Linked DNA regions of Homo sapiens: region 2 is linked to region 1. The links are contacts of gene promoters, found by promoter capture Hi-C in blood cells and fetal thymus (Javierre and others, 2016). All regions are on one chromosome and are shown on one strand. Each heading gives the region's core, a stretch centred on a gene start or on the middle of the fragment in contact. The rest is flanking DNA. Distances are from core to core; before and after follow the strand shown. Region 1 holds the start of L3MBTL4 (L3MBTL histone methyl-lysine binding protein 4). Region 2 overlaps LINC00667 (long intergenic non-protein coding RNA 667).

Evidence for each region. The method cuts DNA at HindIII sites, captures the fragments that hold promoters and counts their contacts. A CHiCAGO score of 5 or more calls a contact.
Region 2: a contact is called between a fragment that was not itself captured here and the fragment with the promoter of L3MBTL4 in region 1, in 1 of 17 cell types (total B cells). The highest score is 5.3, in total B cells.

What each region holds. Positions count from the first base shown.
Region 1 is chr18:6,413,061-6,418,914 of GRCh38, reverse strand. It overlaps L3MBTL4 (L3MBTL histone methyl-lysine binding protein 4), which reads left to right and starts at 4,004. Exons shown (of 19, transcript NM_001330559.2): 1 at 4,004-4,114. RefSeq lists a silencer at 3,962-4,501. The HindIII fragment of the contact is 5,527 bases long and covers 514-5,854 here.
Region 2 is chr18:5,239,228-5,245,081 of GRCh38, reverse strand. LINC00667 (long intergenic non-protein coding RNA 667) reads right to left here. Exons shown (of 3, transcript NR_015389.1): 2 at 3,270-3,383; 3 at 1-1,488. It also overlaps the pseudogene LOC100422274. Among named protein-coding and RNA genes, the nearest start is that of LINC00667, 4.1 kb to the right of the region's middle. The HindIII fragment of the contact is 1,332 bases long and covers 3,078-4,409 here.

The DNA of each region.
Region 1 (5,854 bases), core at 2,755-5,254:
GGATTCTTATCTTGTTCAGTTTATACAGACTCTAAGCATCATCAGAAAAATTATGTCTATGTTGGATTTTTAAAAATTCAAGGAAGTAGACCTGAAGGGAGTATTTTTAAGCTACTTTTTGATAACTTTGTTCAACTAAAAGAAAGCACAAATGTACAAGTAAGTAGATTTCTATATAGATTTTAAGTCATTTGTTCAAAATCACATAATGTGCATATTATCTTATTTATAAAGCTTTATGATATCATTTATTTAAAATTGGTTTTAGACTGGGCATGGTGGCTCATGTCTGTAATCTCAATACTTTGGGAGGCCAAGGCCGGAGGGTGGCTTGAGGCCAGGATTTCAAGACCAGCCTGGGCAAAACAGTAAGACTCTATCTCTACCAAAGTAAATAAATAAATAAAATTATTTTTAATTATTCAATATAATTTACACTTCTTTCTGAACCAGTATTTACATTTAAATAGTATGCTATGCAATTATTTATACCTCGACCCACTAAAGGAAGCTTAATATTGGACCATCCATGTAGGAAAACACAACTGTAACATAGAAAATTATTAACAGTGGCATTAACATGAAAATAAACTTGATGATAATAGTTGTTGAAGATAGTGACTAATGAAATATTTTTGGTTGCTGTGGAAAATTTGCTTGTCCAAGCAAGTATAGAATTCTGTTAAGATAACTTCTCCTCAGTTATACCAAAGCATATAAAGAAATTCACTCTGTGTTAAATTCTCCCAAATGGTCATATTCAAAATATATGCTAAGAAACAATCTCAAGTCTTAAAAACATATTAAACCCCATCTCTACAAATAGTTTAAAAATTAGCCAGGCATAGTGCTGTACACCTGTGGTCCCAGCTACCCAGGAGGCTGAGGCAGGAGGATCACCTGAGCCCAGAGGTCAAGGCTGCAGTGAGCTGTGGTGGCACCAGTGCACTCCAGCCTGGGTGATAAAGCGAGACCTTGTCTCAAAAAAACACAGAAAAAACCCACACTGCTACCAAGAGCCAATCCTGCTATTGATCAAATAATAAAGCAATGTAATTTAATCCTACTTAGAAAAGAAATATAGGCCAGGCCTTGTGGCTCATGACTGTAATGCCAGCACTTTGGGAGGTTAAGCGGGGAGGATTGCTTGACCCCAGCAATTTGAGACCAGCCTAGGCAATACAGTGAGACCTCCATCGCTACAAAAAAATTTAAAAAATTAGCCAGAAGTGGTGGCACATGCCTGTGGTCCCAGCTTCTCTGGAGGCTGAGGTGGGAGGATCAGTTGAGCTTGGGAGGTGGGGGCTACAGTGAGCCATGATCATACCACTGCACTCTAGCCTGGGTGACAGAGCAAGATCCTGTCTCAAAAAAGAAAAGTAAAGAAAAGAAACATACACAACCAGCCAGAAAAATGTAAACAAGTTTAGCGAAGTTTTTAAAATGGAGAGTTCCTTGGATAAAACCAGTCACTATCTTAGCAGGTGGAAAGTTTCATTTTCATTGACAATAGATGGACACATTATAGGACTGCTGTGCCTGTTATGTTTTGATGACCTCCAGAAAGGGGTTCTCTGTATCATGCCATCAGAAATTTCTATCTTAACAATAAACCATCCTTGTCTATCTGGTCAACTTTGCATTGAGAGTTGGTTGGATTCAACTGAATTATAAAAGTAAAATGCCTAGCAACTACCAATGCTATAAACCCCTTTGCTCATGATGGATCATTAGCAAAGTTATAAAAATCAACAATATGGCTATTTCATTTTAATCTGCAGCCGTTCAGATAAAAGGGATTTACTACAACAGCTTTCAAAAATTTTGTAAGAAGTGTACTAATGCGTTCCTGCTTATATTTCCATAAAATTTGAATAACAGTGTAGTTTAAGACAGATGTCAGCTTCTCTGAACAGAATCATATGTTGTCAGCACTATGCACCTATGCACTTACATTTAAGTAGCTGTAGATGAGGTTTCCTGCCTGTTTCAACTTGTTTCATTGGTGTATCCTTTTCCTTATGTAAACCCAGCCCCTGAAAACAGTGTGTCTGCTTTCATAAACTTAAACCAAATATAGTCAATAAACATGTTATAAAAACAATTGTTTCCCCCCAAGAAGTGAAGATAAGCTGATGTAAATTCACTTTATTTGGATTTCAATCCAGCTTTCTTCTTTGATTTCATATATTATAACATCAATATTCACTTTTCTGAAGGGCTCCTGGAACCAGAAGTGCACTTAACTCTTTCTGTGCTGGGGACATTTTGATATCTCTATTACTAATACCTAGAATCTCCAATGATAAATAAATACCTCTGGGATGGACTGGGGATACACTGCAATAATTGAAGCACTTTATCCTTCACCAAAAATGGTATCCGTGTTCCTGTGAGTAGCAGGGAGGTGGAACTCTCACCTGCTGAGTCCCGTTCTAATTTCATCCAATCTGGTGAACAAGTATCCAACCAAAGGTGGTACCTGCAGGCATGCCCATTGTCACAGTAATGCAACACTGTAAGTCCTTAGCACAATGTTAAAATTGGTTGGAACTGAGTTTCAAATGTTTTCCTCTCGCTACTGAGGTCTTCTACTTCTTTCTTTTTCTCTTTGTCTCTAATATCTTTTTCTTTTTGTTTTTCTTTTTCTTCTTCTTTTTTTTTTTTTTGAGTTGGAGTTTCGCTCTGTTGCCCAGGCTGGAGTGCAGTGGTACTATCTCAGCTCACTGGAGCCTCTGCCTCCCAGGTTCAAGCGATTCTAGTGTCTCAGCCTCCCGAGTAGTTGAGATTACAGGCGCCCGCCACCACACCCAGCTAATTTCGTATTTTTAGTAGAGACAGGGTTTCACCATGTTGGCCAGGCTGGTCTCGAACTCCTGACCTCAAGTGATCCGCCCTCTTCGGCCTCCCAAAGTGCTGGGATTACAGATGTGAGCCGCCATACCTGGCTAATATATTTTTCTTAACTGACTAGAGCACAGAACACAAATCGTGTGTTTGCACTTACAAATTTCTATGATCATTGTTCCTAGTTTAAAAACTTCATTAGCAAAGGGGTTTATATTTCTCTTTTCAGTAAGGACACGAAATTATGTTTCAACAATGCCCAGTCTCACCTAAAAAGCAAGTTTTCATTCTCTGTTTATGGTAGCCCACGACAAACCAAAAAGATCATTTTGGATGGTATCATTGTTAATCCTGCTAAATGATTCAATTTCCTGCTGAAAGCAACAAACTAATACTTATTTAGTACCTACTATTTATTATTTGCATACTAGGGTTTATACACAAGGCGTCCTATGAAAGAACATTTCATTCAAAAGTCACAACATATAGTCTTCAATTATCAGCTACCTTTATTTGTAAGCCAAAATAAATGATTTAATACAGTCCTCCCAAACTGGGAGACAATGCTTTGAGAAAGGCCAAAGCTAGCCAGTAAGGCCATAAGTTCCATGAGGGCAGGATCTACCCAGCTCCTGTTTCCTGCTCAATTCCAAGCAGTTAGAACAGGGTCAGTAAACACTGCTTGCCACTTGGAAAGAGTATTCTTTTATTTGGAAATGGTATCCAGGTACTCGTGAGTAGCAAAGTCAAGAGCAGGAAAGGGGAGTGGGGGAGGTTGCAAAATCGGAGCGAGCAGCAGGACCGAGAGGGATCCGGAGGAGAGAGCCTTCAGACGGTGAACCCCAAGAGCTGGGATGAAGCATGGGTGAGCTACTGGGACTTCGCTGCCAGGGAGCAAGCTGGCAGGCAGGAAGTAGCCAAGATTTGGGGGAATCCTTCCCAGGGAACGAATACAGAGAAGGACGCATCTGAAAATTCCGCCGCAGCCACCTCCCTCCCATGGGAAAGCCCCGACCTCGGCGGGCCCAGCGCCACCCGGCTCCCCGGGGTGTGGAACACTGAGCGAGGCAGGTGCGGCGGGAGCATGCGCGCGGGGCGGGCAGGGGGCGGCTCCCGCGCCCCCACCCCGCGCGTGCACCCTCGCGCCCCTCCCGCCGGGCACCGCGGGGCAGCGGCGCCGCAGCCTGGGCTGGCGGAACCTCGCGCTCCGACTCGCCCCCCGCCTGTAGCTCGGTCGGCGTTGCGGGCAGGCGCCGCTCCGCTGGGGGTAAGAAGGACGCCGCCGCCCGCGTGGGATGGTCGCGAGCCCGCGTGGGTGCCCACGGCCGCCGCCGCGCGGGGTGGCCCCATCCCCGGGCAGGTAGAGGGGCCTGCACGACTCCCGCGGCGAGGGCCGGGCCGGTGGGGGCGGTGGCGGTTGGGGATAGCCCCGGTCCCGGCCCAGGCTCTTTCTCTTTCTCTTTCGCCGCCGGGGCGCGCGCCGGGCTCCCCGCGAGAGGCGCTGCCTCACTTGTCGCCTACTTTGGACGGGCGCGGCCGCCGCAGAGCCCGGCGCCTCGGTCAGCCGCGAGGGCAGGGTCGGGGTGCCAGGCGCGGCTACCTGGGCGCCCTGGAGCCAGCGCAGCCTGGGACCGGGGGAGCGGGACGGGACGGGACTCCTGAGGGCCCCCAGGCAGTCCTCCGGCCATCGAGCGCCCGGCGGTGGGCATTTGGCTTTTGTTTCCTCTGGGGCTAACGCCCCCGTCTGCCCGCGTGTCCCCCTCAGCCGACAAGTGTCGTGTGCCCGGACGGGCGAGCGCTGCCTCCCTCCACCCGCTTTCTGCCCTTGTCTTCCTCTGCGAGTTCTGCCCAGCCTCGGGAGCGGGAGCCCAGGGAGTGCGCGCAGGGCGGGCGGGCGCCTGGCCAGCCTGGGACGGCGGCTCTCAGGCTCCTGCCACCGCCTGGAACTGCGGGGGGCGCGCCGGCCACAGTCGCCCTCGCCTGCTCTCCGGGCCTTCTTGGGCCCGCTTGGTCCCAGGTGGACGCGAGTCGAGCTGGGCACACCTGGGCCAGCGCCGCACTTACCTGCGGGATTGGTGAGAGCGTTTTCGCGAGGTCGCAAATTCCGGGTGGGTATTGTCCCCTGCTTTTGATCTCCCTTAGTCACTGGTTAAAGTGCGAAGTGTGCTTTATCTTACATATGCCTTTAGAGGGACATTCTTAATGCGCCAATGCCCCGAGGTGGAACTAAATAAAGGGAAGGCCTGGTCATTGTTACTGTTGAGACTGCTGTACTTAACAGTCAGAGGAAGGCAGCTGGTCACCACGACCCACTCGGCCATTCCCATGCTGAAGACTCGCTCTCACTTCACACTTGTTTGGACTCCACTATGACTTGCTGGTGGCCCATCTCCTGGATCCTTCTGTTGGAGCTGTTCTAGAAGATGCTTGTGGCAGGCTCCAGTTTCAGTCCTTGGCTGAAATAAGTGTAGTGTGGCTCTTCGGTTTTCTAATCTATTCCACCTAAAAAGGTTAAGGTGACAAACAGGTGGTGGGTACAGTAGAGTTGTTTTTGGCCCTTGGTAATATTAAAAACTTGGAATGCATTCCTTATATTACTACAGAATTAGGAGAAACGGTTGAAAGAGGAGAGGTTTTTTTCTTGGAGTATCCAAAGGGATTGGATTCGACTACACTGACTTGGTGTGTAATGGTTGAGTAGGAAGGAAGATGAACATAAAACTGCTATTAATTATGCTCTTAGATGTGAGGCAACATTGAGGATGTATTGCATGTAACCCTTGACTGCAGAATCACTTAGCACTTTGCTGTACAATATTGGGGTCACAAGAAATGTTCAGCTTGGTTAACCTCTGCAGTGTGCTCTCACTCAGTTTCCAAAGAAAGGGTATTGGTGGGAAGGTGATCTGGTGAAGACAGAGGTAATGAAAGTGAAGGAACTGTGTTAACTTTCACTTTTTAAACATTTTATTTTTATTTTTTAGAGATAGGGTCTCACTCTGTCACC
Region 2 (5,854 bases), core at 2,494-4,993, 1.2 Mb after region 1:
ACTTTAATCTTTATTGAGGGCAGTCATGTGCCCAGCTAAAACCAGGGGTTCTATTACTAAGAAAGATACAGCTGCCCCCCACCCCAAAACAATTCAATAAAAATACAAATAAACAATAGTGTAGTAACTATTTTCATAGCATTTACACATTCATTATTATAAGTAATGTAGAGATGATTTAAAGTATATGGAAGATGTGCAAAGGTTATATGCAAATACTGTAATATTTTATATAAATGACTTGAGCACCTGCAGATTTTGGTATCCCTGAGAGTTCCTGGAACCAATCCCCTTCAGATACCAACGAATAACTGTACATGTTTGGTAGAGAACTAGTTGTCTCTACCTAGTCTCCATTCTGGTCACTTCTTTAGTTTCCTAATTTCAGAGTAAGGCCAGTCTCCTTCTGTGATGGTTAATTTTGTGTCAACTTGAGTGAACCAAGGGATGCCCAGATACCTGGTAAAACATTATTTCCACGTGTGTTGGTGAGGGTGTTTCTGGAAGTCATTGACATTTCTACTGGTAGACTGAGTAAAGAAGATCCACCCTCACTAATGTGGATGGGCATCAGTCCATTCAGTGCCCCATATGAAACAAAAAGGCAGAGGAAGGACAAAATCAGCCTCTCTGCTTGTTCTGGGACATCTATTTTCTCCTGCTCTTGGATATCAGTACACTTGCTTCTCTGGCCATTGGACTTGACTGAATTACACCTCCAGCTTTCCTGATTCTCCAGCTTGCAGATGGCAGATCGTGGGTCTTCTCAGCCTCCGTAATCATATGAGCCAATTCCTACAATAAACCTCTCTGTCTCTCTCATTCTGTTTCTCTGGCAAACTCCAATATTCCCTCCTAGGGACAGGAATTTTATCACTCTGATGCCTTATGGCTACTATTCATGGACGTTTCTTATAGCTTTGATTTTCTTGCAGTGTATATCCCAGGTAAATACCTTTCTCTGCTATTGGAGTCCCCTTTCCTCCCCTTATTCTTGTTAACTTTTGGCTTGGATTACATTTTATATGAACTAGGCCTTACCAAAAAATTTTTAAAATGTCTGTCAGTGAGGAAAGGATAGGTCCAGTGTATAACTTAAAAGACGCTATGAGGCAGAGTTCTGTTTTTGTTTTTGTTTTTTTTTTCTTGAGACAGAGTCTCGCTCCATCATCCAGGCTGGAATGCATTGGCACCAACTTGTTTCACTGCAACTTCTGCCTCCCAGGTTCAAGCGATTCTCTTGCCTCAGCCTCCCGAGTAGCTGGGATTGCAGGTGTGTTCCACCATGCCCGGCTAATTTTGGTATTTTTAGTAGAGATGGGGTTTCTGCCATGTTGGCCAGGCTGGTCTTGAACTCCTGGCCTCATGTGATCTGCCCACCTTGGCCTCTCAAAGTGCTGGAATGACAGGTGTGAGCCACTGCACCCAATCAGAATTCTTTTTTATTTTGATAGCTTTGACTGCTTTGATAGTTCTCCATCAAGGAAACTGTTCAAAATGAAAAACAGAACATGTCTTATAGGAGGACTCTCTAAGTCCAATATTAGTGAAGACGATAAGGACAATTTCTTCCTAGAAATAATATATTTCTATCTTCAGCACAAGAGGAATTAATTCCACAGCACTAATAGAAACTGTTAATAGTGTAAATTACAAACAATACAACAAAAATGAAAGCAAAACACACTCCACAGAAGTATGTCAGAAATAAAAAAAAGAAATTCCTTAAACCCTCAAGCCAGCATGCTTGATACAAATTTATACTTTTTTTTTTTTTTTTGAGATGGAGTTTTGCTCTTGTTGCCCAGGCTAGAGAGCAATGGTGCAATCTCGGCTGACTGCAACCTCCGTCTCCGGGGTTCAAGCAATTCTTCTGCTTCAGCCTCCTGAACAGCTGGGATTACAGGCGTGCGCCATCATGCCCAGCTAATTTTGTATTTTTAGTAGAGATGGGTTTATACATTTTTAAAGAATGGACAATGATGCAGATGATTTGTGAGCATTTTGATGAGAAAGTGGTGATTAGAAGGATACAGCATAAATTTAATTGTAAACATGCTTATCTAGCTAACCTAATCTGTTTCTGTAGAATTACTGGCATGGGAGATTGGATAGATGCCTAACCTATCTCAATTTTAAGTAATGTGAGCAAGTCTTTAAGGTATACATAATGATAAAATGGAGAAACATGACCAGATGATGATGGTCATGTAGGTAATTAGATGGATTTGTAGGTGGTTGAAATTGTATCTAAGCATAGCAATCTGGCCTCTGTCTACTCTCCAACAGAATCAATAATCATTCCACATCCCTCTGCTCCAACCATACTGAATTATTTGCAGTTCTCTAAAAACATCATATTCTTAAACCCCAGGGCTTTTGCACATACTATTCCTTTGCCTGAAGCAATGTTTTCTTGCTCCTTTACCTCATTCTTACTCATTCTTTGGATATCAGCTTAAATTTCGTAAGTTGAAAATGCACTTAATACACCTACCCTACTGAACATTAGAGCTTAGTCTAACCTACCTTCAACATGTTCAGAACACTTACATTAGCCTACAGTTAGTTGGGCAAAATTATATAACACAAAGCCTATAATAAAGAATAAGATATTGAATATCTTATATTCAATATGTAATTTCTTGAATATTATACTGAAAGTGAAAAGCAATGGTTTTGCACCATCATGAAGTAAAAAATTCATGTCATGCACTTTCTATAGTACTCAAGAGAACTTGGCAGCACCATTTGTCACACAGAGTTCACCCTAAATTCACCTGGTAATTTTGGTGACCCTCTGCTAGTTAGTTGCTTTTGTCCAAGGGAAAAATAAATTTCTTGTATCTTTATGACAGAAGATAGCTTTGTAATGGAGCAAGGTGCCTAATAAAGTTAGGCTCTTATGTTTCCAGGAAGCTGAAAGATAGGGGTACTATTTTTCTCAATGATTAAATTTCAGTGAGATAGCTCCCAGGTCCTTGAGGAATTCACATTCTTAGGTTGTAAAATTGGCAAAAGCCTAATTTAGTTTTTGGAAAGATTTACAGGCATTTCAAAGAGGCACAGAAAAAGCTTACAATTAAGTTTCCTAAAGTAAATGACCAAAGAAAAGGATGTGGAGGGTAAAAGTCTCTCTCTCTCCTTTGCACCAGGCAGAATTAAATAGTTTTATTTCTAATTTGTACTCACCCTTACACCAACAGTGTGAGCATCGCCTAGGAATTTTTGTTAGAGATGCAAATCCTCAGATCCCAATGCAGACTTACTTGATAAGAAACTCTGGGGATAGGGCCCAGGAATTTGAGATTTTACATAAGCTCCCTAGGTGATGCTGAGAATCATTGTAGAGGATTGTTGATAGCAGGCCATGTGCAAAGGATCTGGGGAAGGCAAAGGATTTAATTTTGTTTAAATTAGTGGTTATCTGAGGTTTGCATAAGTAGTTATCTGGTCTGCTAGTATGTTACCTTCAATTAATTGGCAAGAAATTAGGATATCAAAAATAAAGATATTAGATGAGCCTTAGTTTAGCCAAGACAGTCAAACCTCAATAATTTACACAATAGAGAACAAAAACTAAATGATTATTTTTAAACTGTGCTAATTCGGCTCTCAAGTTCATTCTCTAGTTTACGAAGAGTCACCTGATCAAAATCATTTGAAAATCATTTGATTACTAAATCAAGTAAGCCATAAAAGCTAAACCCAAGTGAAACTAGATAATTGTGCAATTTTCTTAGATGGACTCCTTCTTAAGTTCACCTGGCTCTCTACTGGGGACCAAATCTTATATTTCTCAATTATGTATGCAAACTGGAATCACCTGAAAATACGTTTAAAGACAAAAATTGCAGCAGAGAAGCCAGGGAAGGGGTAGAGTGGATTCTTCCAGCACATGAGTTCACATGACTGCTTCCCCTTCTCAACAGGGGCCAGAGCCTGCCAGGACCTCAAAGAGGAGAGCTTCAGAGGCCCAGCTGACATACTAGGCATAGGGGCCAAAGAGTCTACCTTGAGAAAGGTTTTTATATCTCAAATTTGACCCACTCTTGAATGACAGCTCTAAGAAACTGGCTTCTCAGGAAACTGAGACAAACAGCATCTGTGATGCTACCATGCCTTCCTTAGGAAGTCGGCCTGAAGCAAAGCCGGTGGAATCTGATTTCTAGCGACTCCGGGTGTTCGTGTTCCTGTGATAGGGCCTCCCTTATGTGTCCATTGGCCCCATTGTGGATATACTGCAGTTTAGCCAGAAAGACCTGGATGTGGAGGTTAAAGCCACACAAATGGATAAACTGGAATTAAAAAGCATGAGGAGCTTTCCATGAAAAATGCCTGGAGATGGGGAAAATCATGGATGGGATTGTAACCCAGGTGATGGAGGTGTCTCAGAAACAGAGGAAGCTTGCCAAAGCTGAAATCCAGAAGGTTCTGAAAGAAAAAAAAAATCAAGACCAACTTACTAGACGTGAACTCCACGAAAAAAAAATCTCATCTTTTCAAGGGATTTGAGAAGCAGGAAGCTAGTGAAGCCTACTACAAAAATGAATAATGGCTAAAATTATTATGCTAAGCATTACATATTAGGAAGACCAGAGATACCAAGCATTAAAAGCCCACACATAAAAGAAACCCAATCTAGTAAATGAGGAAATTATGCAGGTCCAGAGGAAGACCTGAGTGGATGACTTGGCTCTTCCAGGTGAGCCTGATAAACAGGTATGGATCCGTTCCCTTGAGAGCATTCAGCAGAAAATAAAAGACTAAAGAAAATGATAAACTGATCAGAATCTGTAATTACCTGTTTTCAGAAGTATAAAAACCTAAAATCACTGACCAGTGACCTTCTGTCCCTCCATGTAACTCCATCTCTACAAGCAAGCCTTGTGTACCTTCTCAAAAAAAAAAGACATCTGTATGAGATATTTTGACTTTCATGTTCTGACTTATAAAATGGTGACGGCGAGCTTTCATTAGAAAATCCGTGTATTCTATCAAATGTATGCTCTTGTGAGGTTTACTGAAAAAAACTTGTTTTTTCCTTTGGTGGTGGTATCCTGTAGGTTTTTTACTATGGAGGAAAAAAAAAAACGCTGCTTTGAAACTGTCAGTAAATACGATCAAGACTCAATTTAAAACGGGACTCAAGCGTAGTTCATATGAGGCCAAGTTAATGGGGAGTTCCTTAGGAACTTTTGTAATACTAACTGGCAATAAAATAACTGCTACAACATGTCTTTATTTCGTCTTTCAAAAACAGTGTTTTCCCCTATCATCTTTAGGTAGATAAACTGTCCACGAAGGAGAGAGTGATCAGTTTATCTTAACATAAAGATTCCTAACTAGGAATTCAAAAAGATACTTCAGTGGGACGATATTGATCATCAGAATGACAAACCCATGAACGTTTTAGGAAAGGCAGTTTCAGATTTTTCTCCTTAGAGGGTTTCAAGAAACCCCTTGATTGAGAGGAGGGCACATATCCTCCTCTTACCTTCTTTGTTCCCAAAAGAGACTCAAAGAATTGTGAACCAAACTTTCATAATATAAAGTCTCTAATTACCTGAGAAAACTGCAGCCCAAAAATCTAAAGTGGCTTACCCAAAGTGAGGAAGTTAATACTATTCCTTTTAGTCCAAGAGAATAATGCCAACTGGATACAGCTCAAAGACTGCACCATTCCCATTATTTTTTGCCATTAGTTACGTTTAATTTTAAATATACCATCTTTGGCAGCAAAAATCAAGCTGGGCTTTCCTTCTCCTTTATAAATTGCATATATTTTTAACATATATTAACACTTTAAAACCGTGGGGTGGAAAGTTTAAAATGCCATAAAATAAGAATCATA